3 separate regions of the Homo sapiens genome follow, and all the other regions are linked to region 2. Evidence: promoter capture Hi-C in human tissues and cell types (Jung and others, 2019). All regions are on one chromosome and are shown on one strand. Each heading gives the region's core, a stretch centred on a gene start or on the middle of the fragment in contact. The rest is flanking DNA. Distances are from core to core; before and after follow the strand shown. Region 1 has its middle 11 kb from the start of HERC1. Region 2 holds the start of FBXL22 (F-box and leucine rich repeat protein 22). Region 3 overlaps CA12 (carbonic anhydrase 12).

The links. Contacts are between HindIII fragments. The study calls those that stand out against the background at their distance.
Region 1: a fragment that was not itself captured here is called in contact with the fragment with the promoter of FBXL22 in region 2 in 1 of the 25 tissues and cell types used here (H1 embryonic stem cells).
Region 3: a contact is called between a fragment that was not itself captured here and the fragment with the promoter of FBXL22 in region 2, in 2 of the 25 tissues and cell types used here (H1 embryonic stem cells and IMR-90 fibroblasts).

Annotation. Positions count from the first base shown.
Region 1 is chr15:63,842,903-63,847,156 of GRCh38, reverse strand. No RefSeq gene overlaps it. Among named protein-coding and RNA genes, the nearest start is that of HERC1, 11 kb to the right of the region's middle. The HindIII fragment of the contact is 4,663 bases long and covers 1-4,121 here.
Region 2 is chr15:63,594,810-63,598,797 of GRCh38, reverse strand. It overlaps FBXL22 (F-box and leucine rich repeat protein 22), which reads right to left and starts at 1,411. Exons shown (of 2, transcript NM_001367807.1): 1 at 1,053-1,411. The coding sequence starts at 1,405. All of the region lies in intron 1 of USP3-AS1 (USP3 antisense RNA 1), which reads left to right. The HindIII fragment of the contact is 12,633 bases long and covers 1-3,988 here.
Region 3 is chr15:63,348,109-63,352,360 of GRCh38, reverse strand. All of the region lies in intron 2 of CA12 (carbonic anhydrase 12), which reads left to right. Among named protein-coding and RNA genes, the nearest start is that of CA12, 32 kb to the left of the region's middle. The HindIII fragment of the contact is 8,588 bases long and covers 1-4,252 here.

The sequences.
Region 1 (4,254 bases), core at 541-3,040, 250 kb before region 2:
GCCGAGCTGTATCCTGCCCCCTTTTAGCAATAGCTAGAGTGGCTGGGACTCAGGGCACCAAGTCCCTTGGCTGCACACAGCATGGAGATCTTGGGGCTGGCACACAAAACCATTTTTTCCTCTTAGGCTTCTGAGTCTGTGATGGGAGGGGCTGCCGTGAAGATGCCATGGAGACATTTCCCCATTATCTTGGGGATTAACATTCGGCTCCTTGTTACTTATGCAAATTTCTGTAGCCAGCTTGAATTTCTCTTCAAAAAATGGGTTTTTCTTTTCTACTGCGTCATCAGGCTGCAAATTTTCTGAACTTTTATTCTGTTTTCCTTATAAGATGGAATGCCTTTAACAGCACCCAAGTCACCTCTTGAATGTTTTGCTGCTTAGAAATTTCTTCTACCAGATACCCTAAATCATCTCTCTCAAGTTCAAAGTTCCACAAATCTCTAGGGCAGGGGCAAAATGCTGCCCGTCTTTTTGCTAAAAACGTAAAGAGAGTTACCTTTGCTCCAGTTCCCAAAAAGTTTCTCATCTCCATCTGAGACCACCTCAGCCTGGACCTGATTGTTCATATCACTATCAGCATTTTTGTCAAAGCCACTCAACAAGTCTCTAGGAGATTCCAAACTTTCCCACATTTTCCTGTCTTCTTCCGAGCCCTCCAAACTGTTCTACCCTCTGCCTGATACCCAGTTTCAAAGTTACTTCCACATTTTTGGGTATCTTTTCAGCAACACCCCACTATACTCATACCAACTTACTGTATTAGTCTGCTTTCACATGGCTGATAAAGACATACCCAAGCCTGGGAAGAAAAAGAGGTTTAATTGGACTTTCAGTTCCACATGGCTGCAGAGGCCTCAGAATCATGGTGAGAGGTTAAAGGCACTTCTTACATGGCAGTGGCAAGAGAAAATGAGGAAGATGCAAAAACAAAAACTCCTTATAGAACCATCAGATCTCATGAGACTTATTCACTACCATGAGAACACTATGGGGGAAACCACCCCCACAATTCAAATTATCTCCCACCAGGTCCCTCCCATAACAAGTGGGAATTATGGGAGTATAATTCAAGGTGATATTTGGGTGGGGACACAGAACCAATTAGAGGGGAAACCATATTAGACGGGAAGATATGGGTTGAAAAAAGCTTAGGGACATATTAGCTTGGAGAGGAATGGGAAAGACTAAACCCTAGTTTAATAATGCACATTTGGGTGATTAATACAAAAATCAGGATATGAGGAGGGTTGCAATTGGGAAGGGGCTCATGGATGGAACTTCTGGGGTAGGTTGCAAGATATTCTATTTCTTGACCTGGTGGTGACAAGAATCTTCACTTTAGATGAGCTATGCATTTGTTTTGGGCGGGTTTGTTCATTTATTTATTTTTGAGACGGAGTCTCACTCTGTTGTGCAGGCTGGAGTGCAGTGCTGTGAACTTGGCTCACTGCAACCTCTGCCTCCTGGGTTCAAGCGATTCTCCTGCCTCAGCCTCCCGAGTAGCTGAGATTACAGGCACCCACCACCGCATCTGGCTAATTTTTGTATTTATCAGCAGCGTGAAAACAGACTAATACAGTAAATTGGTAATTTAGTAGAGACAAGGTTTCACCATGTTGGCCAGGCTGGTCTCGAACTCCTGACTTCAGGCAATCTGCCCACCTCGGCCTCCCAAAGTGCTGGGATTATAGGCATGGGCTACCACGGTCCTGTTTTGGGTGGGCTTTTAAAAAATTAGTTAATTAATTTTTTGATACAGGGGCTTGATCTGTCTTCCAGGCTGGAGTGCAGTGGCATGATCATGGCCCACTGCAGCTCGACCTACTGGGCTCAAGTGATCCTTCCACCTCAGCCTCCCAAGTAGCTGTCACTGGAGGCACATGCCACCATGTCTAGCTAATATTTTATTTTTTGTAGAGACAGGGTCTCACTATGTTGCCCAGGGTGGTCTTGAACTCCTGGGCTGAAGCAATCCTCCCACCTCCACCTCCTGAAGTCCTGGGATTACAGGTATGAGTCACTGTGCCCAGCTTGTTTTTTTTTTTTTTTGAAATTGTGTTTTATTTTATAGTTTTTTTAAAAATATTTTTATTATACTTTAAGTTCTAGGGTACGTGTGTACAACGTGCAGGTTTGTTACATATGTATACATGTGCCATGTTGGTGTGCTGCACCCATTAACTCGTCATTTACATTCGGTATATCTCCTAATGCTATCCGTCCCCCCTCCCCTCACCCCACAACAGGCCCTGGTGTGTGATGTTCCCCTTCCTGTGTCCAAGTGTTCTCATTGTTCAATTCCCACCTACGAGTGAGAAAATGCGGTGTTTGGTTTTTTGTCCTTGGGATAGTTTGCTGAGAATGATGGTTTCCAGCTTCATCCATGTCCCTACAAAGGACGTGAACTCATCATTTTTTATGGCTGCATAGTATTCCATGGTGTATATGTGACACATTTTCTTAATCCAGTCTATCATTGTTGGACATTTGGGTTGGTTCCAAGAATTCTTTTTTTTTTTTTTTTTGAGACAGAGTCTCGCTCTGTCGCCCAGGCTGGAGTGCAGTGGCGTGATCTCGGCTCACTGCAAGCTCTGCCTCCCAGGTTCATGCCATTCTCCTGCCTCAGCCTCCCAAGTACCTGGGACTACAGGCGCCTGCCACCACGCCTGGCTAATTTTTCGTATTTTTAGTAGAGACGGGGTTTCACCTTGTTAGCCAAGATGGTCTCGATCTCCTAACCTCGTGATCCGCCCGCCTCGGCCTCCCAAAGTGCTGGGATTACAGGCGTGAGCCACTGCGCCCAGCAAAAAAAAGAATTCTAATGACAACATAAGCCTAGAGCTGCTAGGTGCCATGATCCTTCTCTATGCAGAGAGAGAGAGAGCTGCTAGGGAATGAAGCCATTCCAAAGGAATGCAGTGCCTAGAGATATAGTATGAGACATAAAGTCCATGATGATCTTTGATTATCGGCATCCAGCCATTTCTGAAGCTGGATATATCATGGAATTTCCAGTGATGTGAACCAGTAATGTTCCCCCTTTGCAACCAAGAGAGTCCATCTACATATCTGTAGATCCTCACAAGGCTAGTGAATGTTTCTCAAGGAACTGCTGGTTTTGCTGGGTTTTTGGTGATCGCTTTAACTGTCTGCAGTAACTCACATTCACCACCACACACAGGCAAACCTGTTCGTCTTCATTCTCTCAGTGCTCTTGAAAGCTTTATTCCATATTTCCCAATGATGGGGGTCATTGTCATTCACTGAGGCTTGGTTCTTTCTGACCTTTTTGGAGGGTCAGCAGGGCTCACTAAGAGAGGGGATAGGAAGCGGTGTTTTGCTAAAGATGAATACAAATCCTGTCACCTGGAACAATTGGCGCATGTGCTGGGTTAGTCTGAGGCCCAGGGAAAATAAAGTGCAGTTGTGTATTTCAGATATCATTGATTCATTATATATTTATTGATTTCCAGGCACTGAACAAGACAGCCCCAGGTTCAGCTCTCAGGGAACTCACAGCTGGCTGTGTGTGTGTGTGTACGTTTGTGAAGATCTACATGGTACAAAATGGTGAACTCTCAGAGGCCTACTTCTCTGTAAACAGCTTTGATTTTATCCATGTCCCTTTTCCAGGTTCTGAAATTTCCATCTTTTGAATTATTTCTTAATATTGTTCAATACTCCCAGGAAGTCCAACTTAGAATGCAAAAACGTGTGAACTAGAGGGAAGGGCACATCAATTCTTTACAATGCAATGTCACTATGGTGAAGAGTAGAACAGGACAGATACATTTTGATGAGAAGATAGTCCTTGGGGAAAGTCTCCAGACCTGGGCAGCCAGGAGGTGGTGTGTAAGGGGGATGAACACAGGAGAAAGAGTAGGAGAAAGACAGGTTAGGAAGGGCCTATTCTTTCATCAGTTTTCTCAGATTTTGGTAGTACTCATGCCTTGAATATCTCACTCTGGTAAGGAAGTAGGACTTATTTTGTATTCTAGGCTTTGAAGTGAGACAGACCTGTGTTTGAATCCCAGCCTTGCTACTTACTAGCTGGTGACCTGCAGAAAGTCATTTATTTTTTCTTTCTTTTTTTTAGAGACAGAGTGTGACTCTGTCACCCAGGCTAGAGTGCAGTGGTGCAATCATAGCTCACTACAGCCTCAAACTCCTGGGCTCAAGCAATCCTCCCGCCTCAGCCTCCCGAGTAGCTGGGACTATAGGTGTGTGCCACCACACTCAGCTAATTTTTAA
Region 2 (3,988 bases), core at 162-2,661:
GGGCCCAACCCCAAGTCCATCTTCTGTTTTCTTCCTACCAGCTCAAAAGAAAGGTGGGGTCACTACGCTGTTTCCTTCCACTCCTGTCGTGCTGCCAGCAAATAGCAGCTATGAACTTGGGTGGCAGTAAACTGGCTGAGTCTAGTTTTCCATGAACAGCCAGGGCCAGTTTGTTATATGATCAAGGGGGTGTTTTTCCTCAAAGGCAGCACGGGACTGGCAGAAGCTCAGTGAGAGGCTGGTTGAATAGCTCTGTGTTCTTGCCTGGGCCGCTCTGCCCATGAGGCTGGGACCATGGAGGGAGCCTGGCCTGGTGGTTCAGTGTCTATGTCTGTGTCTGGGGTGGGGGTTAGCAGATAAACACAAGATGTATTTGGGACATACTTACACTAAAATATTATTCACTGTTTATCTGAAATTCATATTTAACTGGGCAGCCTATATATTTGCTAAAATCTGGCAACCCTAGACTGGGCAAATCATACCACCTCGTGGAGCATCAGTTTGCTAATTTGAAAAATTAGGCTAAGCCACCCTCCTTAGGAATACTGTGTAAATCAGTAATTCATCTACTCCTGGAGTCTGGTTTGGCTCAGCTGACCTGAGCACCCTGGCTTCTCCACCTCTGGCTCCCCACCCTCTCTTTCCTCCGTAGTTTCCCAGGCCTTGAGGGCTGCTTGCTAGGCCTAATGGAGGGGTGAGCTGATTGCTGCATCTGGAAGCCTTTTCCCAGAGCCTGACCTTGAAAATCCAGGCCCAGCTGGACCCACCCAGCACTTAATGACTACCAGTACGGAGGCCCCACTTCTTGGTGTTTGCATGAAGCAGCCCAGGACCTGTGAGGCTAAGAGGAGGATTAGCAATTGTTTCCCTCATGATTTTATTGTCTCCTGGGGACCCTGCTTTGGGCGGTCTGGATGTCTGCCTTGGGCCTAGTTTGAGGCGCCCCGAAGGTGGAGCCATCTTGGTCTCGTAATTTGCTCTTCCCTGCCCCCCAAGAGGGAAGCCAGAGCTAGCGGGGCCAGCACTGCTCAGGAGGCAAGGTGGCCTACCTGTCGCACACCCGGAGGAGGAAATCATTGACCAGGCTCTCGTGCCGGCTGCAGATGCTTCTCTGGAAGGCACTCTTGAGCCAGTCCTCAATGCTGCACACCTGCACGCGGCTGGAGTGCCAGCAGATGGAGAGGCTGCGGAGTGCCGGGCCCAGGAGGAAGTTGTCCTTCTGGAGTTCAGTGAGGGAACGGAAGTGCAGCAGGGACCAGAGTGCGGGGTCCTCAAACACGTCGTGGAGCTGGGAGCAGGTCCTGGCAAGGCTCTTCCTGCTGTCCTTGTCTAGGAAGGAGAAGAGGTGCAGCAGGCACTCCCGGTTGAGCTGGGTTATGTGCATGGTGAGCAGTGGCCACATGTGAGTGCAGCTGCAGCCGGGGGACGGCTGACCTGCCTCCTCTCCTCCTCCCCGACTCTGGGCCGGTGGACATATATGGTTGAGGAATGGTGTTTATTTTTGGCTAACAACTGGTGCTGAAGCTCTGCGGAGGGGTGAGGGAAGAAAAGCCAGGACCCAGACACATGTGCGGCAGTCTGTGGTTCGGCTTATGTTCAGAGGGATTGGAGGTCCTGGCAGAAAAGGAGCCTATTGAAGTTACTTTCCTTAAAAGGGATTTTTTTTTTCCCTTTAGCTGACAATGGTGTTTAGCAGTGAGCACTTTTGGCTTTTCCCAAGGCGTTTTCATTGGCAGTGGTGGCGGCCAGGCCAGCTCTGTCTGGCTTTGCAGTCTGTACTTAGGGGGAAGGAGTGTAATTGTAAATGTTAACTGTTTTGATTTTCTAGTACATCAGTGTGAATCTTTTGCTCCACCCTTACTAGGAAGAAACCTGTTGCGTGTGGAGAGCTAAGGGTGACGGTTGTGAGTTGTGAGCAGAGTCCATGGCTGCTGCCTCATTCCTGTTATTTTTGTGCCATAGAGTAATTGTCTCCAGGCTAGGCTGGTTGGCCTTCAAGCCCTGCTGCCTGCCACTAGGCAGGGGGATTTTCCTGGGCCTCCCCAACAGCTAGATTTTTACCCTGAGTTGTTTCATAAAAGAATTTTACTGAAGTAGCTGCTTTCCAAAGTTGTGTGTCTGTGTTTTATGTTTTATTGGTGCTTTGTTGTTGTTGTTGTTGTTTTTGTAGTTTTGGTCAAGCAGTACTTTCTGTGTTTTAAATTTAAATTTACTTGGCTTTACATTTTCTCACTGATAAGGCCTTGTACTATGTATAACCTGTACTTCCCAAAATGTCAGGATGGATGAGGTAGCTCTTAATGTGAAACTGCTTGAAACAATTTTAAGTTCAGTATTTTAGTCCATCTTTGCCTTTAAGTTGACCACACACCATCCATTCTATGAGTGCCCTCCGTTCCCTCTTGGAGAAGCCAGTGGGCCACCCCTGCCCTCTCTGACTCAACTCTAGGCAAGGTGCCTGGAGGTACTATCCGTGAAGCTCCCCCTTCCTGAGTACCCGAGGCTTCACGATATGGCAGACCCGTTTCCTCATGCTGCTTCACTCCCAAACCCAGGACCCAACCTTAACTCTCCTGCTTTGAATCCCAGTCGTTGTTTTTTGGTTTGCTTGGGGGATGCTGATATGGTGCAGCTGTATAGGCCACGTTCTGCCTAGGCAATAGTGAGAAGAGAATGGTTTTTCCTCTGCCAGCCCAGGGACCACCACCTCAGTGGTTACTTCTGTTTGTTCTCCCATTTGGAATAAGAGGGAATGGGAATCCTTGTGTTTTCCCATAGACACAAATGAAGCAGCCTATGCTGAACCCACTTCTGGAACTAAGGTTTGGTCAGGGCTGGTGCAGCTTTGCCTTTAAAGCAGAAGGCAGTCAAGCAAAGAAGGAAGTAGCCATTGTCAGTGGCTTTCCTGAGAAGCCAGCCTCAGCTGGTGCCCCTGTGCCTCCATTACTCCACCATGCCAAGATGAAGTACAGTAGGGGGTTCTCTTAAAAACAAACCAAGGAGGTCGAAAGGAAGCATTTCCCAAGGAAGGGGAGCAAGATACTGCTGCTATTTCAAGCTCATCAATGTAGTTCTGAATTATAGCTGACACCCTAATTTAGGCTCTGTCTAGGTGTACTTCTCCACTTAAAATGGATGCTGCAAAACCACAGGTGGTGTTATTAGAAAGCCACATTATCTCCACTTTCCCTCCCCAATCCTCCTCAAACCAATGCTTTTCAGAGGGTTTGACCCTTAGGAATAGGTGGTTCTTTCCACTTCTTGCAAGGCCAGAGTGGTACTTGTGCCTTCCACTGAGTAAGTGTCACTGTGCTTCAGCATGGCTTCCAAGTTGCACTACTGCAGCCCAGCTGGAATGGCAAAAGATTGGCAGGGAGAACATTTAGAGCATTGCCCCTCTGCTGTTCCTCCAGGTAGGCTGCAGGAAGCATCCTAGACTACCAGGGCCAGGGGGAATGTGCTCCTGCATGCTGCAGAGGGTCTGAGGCACAGCCAGGAGATGACGAAGCTCTGCCCCTTTGGGCTTGTCCAGAGCTATGCTGTTTGGCAGCAGTGACAGCAACCACGCAGCCTCTGACCAGCACAGCTGCCAAAAGAATGTGCCCTACGGAACAAGGATGCATAACAATTTGAGCTGCAGGCACCTGTGTCTTCAATTTTAGAAGACTGACAAGAACAGGCAAAGGATGACTGTGGAAACAGGGTTCTGTCTGCAGGAGGCATGGGGGCAGGGAAGTAGTCTATAGGAACTTACTGTAAACAGGATGTTTATTTAAAAGCACTTATTTGCCTGTTTTACCTTAAAAGATGACCAGTATCCTTTGCTCAGAGCCCCAAAACTAGTGCCTCAGGGTAGAGTCTAGCTCTAAAGGGGAAGGGAAGGGGCCTCATTTTTATAAGATCAATAGTCACAAGAGACTGAGGGTGATTTCACTGGGCAAGGCCGAGTGGGACCTCAGGCACCTGACTGCAGGCACTCATCTCC
Region 3 (4,252 bases), core at 53-2,552, 250 kb after region 2:
CACAGGCTGGGTGCGGTGGCTCGCGCCTGTATTCCCAGCACTTTGGGAGGCCAAGGCAGGTGGATCGCTTTAGGTCAGGAGTCTGAGACCAGCCTGGCCAACATGGCGAAACCCCATGTCGACTAAAAATATAAAAAATTAGCTGGGCGTGGAGGCACGCACCTGTAATCCCAGCTACTTGGGAGGCTGAGGCAGAAGAATTGCTTGAACCTGGGAGGCGGAGGTTGCAGTGAGCTGAGATTGCACCACTGCACTCCAGCCTTGGTGACAGAGCAAGACTCAGTCTCAAAAACAAAAACAGAAACAAAAAACAAAATCTTTCACATTACCCTCACCTTACCATAACCACCACGCATACACCCTTCTCTCATCCCTTTATGGCTAAATTTCTGAAATGAGCTTAAAAAAACCCTCCACATCCATTCAAGGATGTGTTCAGACATAAGTAGGGATATGACATAAAGTTCTGGTCTTCCAAAGGTCTTTGAAACTCATATTCTGAGCTCTAGTCTGTAATAAGTTTCTGTACTAGTCTGGCTCTAACAGTCACAGGTGAGGCAGGCTAACAATCATCACTGCTTGCTAGTGTGCACAACCCGAGTAGGCTGGCCGAGAAGTTCAAGTCAGGGACTAGAAAGCACTGGGGTAGCTTTGGCAGGACCTGAGCTGGACTTTGAAGAGTGGACGAAATTTGGAAAGGTGCAGAGGAAAGAAGAGGGCATTTGAGCAGATTTTTTCATAACGGCATTTGTGAAGGTGGGTTGGCATAGCCTGTTCTTAGGCTCAGGGAGCTGGCTGAAGCATGGGGCAGGCTGGGGCGGGATGTGGGGGCCTTTGAAGACTTTGACAGGTTGGGGCACTTCAAGGCCATGAAAAACAGCTAGGCTGTGCTTTGTCTTGTTGGGGTGGGGCAGGGCATGCTAGGGAGAAAGGGAGTGTACGGATGGGTGGTGGGGTGGTGCCACCCAAGCCAGGCTATGACAAGATTGATCTGGTTACTGCAGGAGAGCCAGCCTGGCAGTGTAACAAGGAAGGCTGGGGCTGGTTGCCTGTGGGAAGCCTTTGCAGTGTGACATGGCGAGGGCCTAACCCATGGAAGCATGGGAGTCCATGACCCACTAAGGGCAAAGGATAGACCAAGCTGGCTCTGAGATGTTGAGCCTTGGAGGAGCGGGGCCCAGGTGTTCTCTGATGAGGCATTCCACCATCAAGCTGTAATCTAGGCCATAACACATCCTCTAATTGCAATATTGCAAAAAATATATGGACTGTATGTGAACCCTGAAATTTACAAACTGTTAAAAATTTATGACCTATTTGGAAAAATTTGAATTCTAATTGGATTCGGTAATCTTAAGGTATTAATTCTTAACTCTCTAGGTGTGGTCATGGTACTGTGGTTTTAAGAGCCCTTATGTTTTAGAGAAACATATGAAATATATACAGATGAAATATATCTGGATTTGTTTCCAGTTATCCAGGTAGATAAGGGGAGAATGGGCTTAGCATAGATGAGGCAGGACTGTTTCTGAATTGTAAACTGTCCAAGCTGGGTGACATGGGGTTCATTCCACTCCTCTCTCTACATTGTATACATTTGAAATTTTCTGTAAAAACATTCTGGTCCTTGGATAATGCAGGTCCTACACCCTGGGCCTCAAAATTCCCAATCAGAAATCACGAGAGGCATTTTGAGCTGTGCCATGTTAATCTCTTGTTACCTTTCGAAACAGGAATTCTGACCACTTCTGTTTTGCCTAGAGCAGGAAAAACACATAGACAGGAAAGAAATAATGCCTTGGCTTTATTTAGAAAAACAAACTGTGAAAGACACGTGATCCTCCTGTATCACGATCATGGGAGGAGTCCAACCAACTGGAGAGGCGAAGTCAAAACTCAGAAGAGCAAAGGCAAAGTTTTAGCTGGAAATAAATGCTTCTTTTAGGAGAGTCACTCCCAGTGGAGGATTTCTGGCAGTGGAGCACTTGGCATGAGTGTGAAAGCTGACACTGAGTTGGAAAATGGTAGCCCAGGGTGTAGCGGCCAGCATAAGGCCAGCACTGTGCAGTCACATGTCACAGCTCAGGGAACAGAAAGGCCTGCTGTTGTCACCTCTGATATTGGTTGTCCCGGTGCCCACCCTCATGGCACCTCTATCTCTCACATGCCACAAAGACAGGAGGCTGCTCTGACAGTGTCCCCAGCTATGCAAGGCGGGGACACCCACTAGCCATTACATGCTGGGGGAGGGCCCTATGAACTTCCTTGGCAGGCCGTCTCCCAGGCTACAGGGCAGAAATCAGATTTCTTTTTCAATTAGTGCCCCCAAACAGAAACCATTTGCACACAGGTAAGCTAGAAAGCTAGGAGGGTACATTTTGAACCTGAGCAAGTGATCTCATTTTTCCTCCTCTTTTTTGAGGAGAAGAAATACATGAGGGAATTAAGGTGGGTGCACGTTCCCTGGGAAAGGAACAAGCATGAAACAGGTGTTGAGAGTTCAGCTTAGTAAACATGTGAGGGCCCACTCTGTGCCAGGCACTGTGGGAAGTGCAGCGATGGATGAGCCGTGGTCCTTGTCTTCAAGGACAGCGTGGGGAAGCCAGGAAATTCCAGGTGCACAAAATCTCCTGGATAAATACTGAAGGACACATAAGTCCTGTGACCCAAGCAAAGTAACTGTTACTTAGCCAAAGTCAAACTTCCGGCAAATCTCTTAAATCTCTATTTTTCACCCATAAAATGGTGCAATTCTGCCTTGCTTACCCCGTAAGGTTATAGAGTTATAAGGATCAAAGCTACTACAATATAATAACAATGAGGAGGAGGAGGAGGAGGCGAAGACAAGGCTTTCTTGACCTTGCTGACCTACAGACCTGTGACTGGTGCCCAAGGACGAACTCCGCTGTGGATGGCAGCCAGGACCAGGGCAGGTTCCTGATGCAGATGGCTGTCTGATCCCAGCCAGTCCTGGAGCACCGGTGCCCTGTGCCCTCATTCCCGAAGCTGGTTCCCCTGGGCACCTTGTCACATGCCCAGTAGCTGCCTTGACATGAGCAACCTTTCTGACTCATTCAAATTTGCCTGACAGATGGAGAAGGTGCTTAGTCCTAGTATTCTTAATAAATATCAGAGCTTAAGAGCCAGAAGGAACCTTCCAGAACATAGCTTCCACACACATCCCATCCCCACCACTACGCCCACCACCCCCACCATTTGCACGAAGGGCAATGGAGGCTCCAGCAGGGAACATAACCCACTGAAGTGTTGGGACAGCTGATGCTGGAATCTCATTCTCTGGACTCCCCTGGTCCAACATAGCTGCTTCTCTTTCCAAGACAGGTTTTGCCAACACCAACTCTACTGCCTTTAATATCCTTAGTCTTTCCTGCCCCCCAAATACCTTATTTGGTCCTAACTTCCAATAAAGCGTATTTAGAGCAAGAGAAAAAGGAAACATTCCCCAAGTCACATTTTCCCAAGCCCTCTGTTCTTTTTCACTCTTTGGGAAAATGTTTCCTAAATGCCCATGGGGGCACGTGACCCTACTTATAATATGGGTTCACAGAGACGAAGATGAGGGGTCCCTATCTTCACGAGGCTCTCGTTTAGCTATCAGTAAAATGCCCTCTTGATGAAACCTTTTTGAACCTCCACTGTGGGAAAAGAAAACCCTTCTAATCCAGTTCCCTTTAGTCATGTGTGCAAAGAGAAAGCTTCTCAATGATGCATCTCTTTACTTCCTGAGTTTTTTGCATTCATGCCTGGCTGGCAGCTTCCGCCCTGCTGGCTGTGGGCCCAGGCAGTATTGTGAGCACAGAAAAGGCTGGCAGCCTCACTTAGGGAGTCTTACCCTGTGCTGTGTCTCTTCCTGACCCTGGGGTTCTACATGAGGCCTCACGGTTGCTTCATTCTGCTCCCCGCTGCCCCTAAAGCATTCGGTTTGGCCCCCAGCTGAATAATTGTCTTACTCCAGTTTGGCCCTGGAGTGCCTGCTTTGATATCCTCCAGCCTCCCTCTTCCCTAGTCACCATCTTGGTGTAGTTGAGTTATTTTGAGGCCTTGAAAATAAGAATAGTAGAGCTCAGCGGAGACTCTGCCATGCCCAAGTGAGAAGACTGGTGTCCAGTGAAAGGTTGGACTGGAGATTCTGCAATTCCGTCATGCTGTAACATTTCTGAAAATGCATAGCCTAAGGTTGACAGCCTGAAAAATCAGTAGGGTTCCGATGTGTGTGTCCGGACCTAGAAGT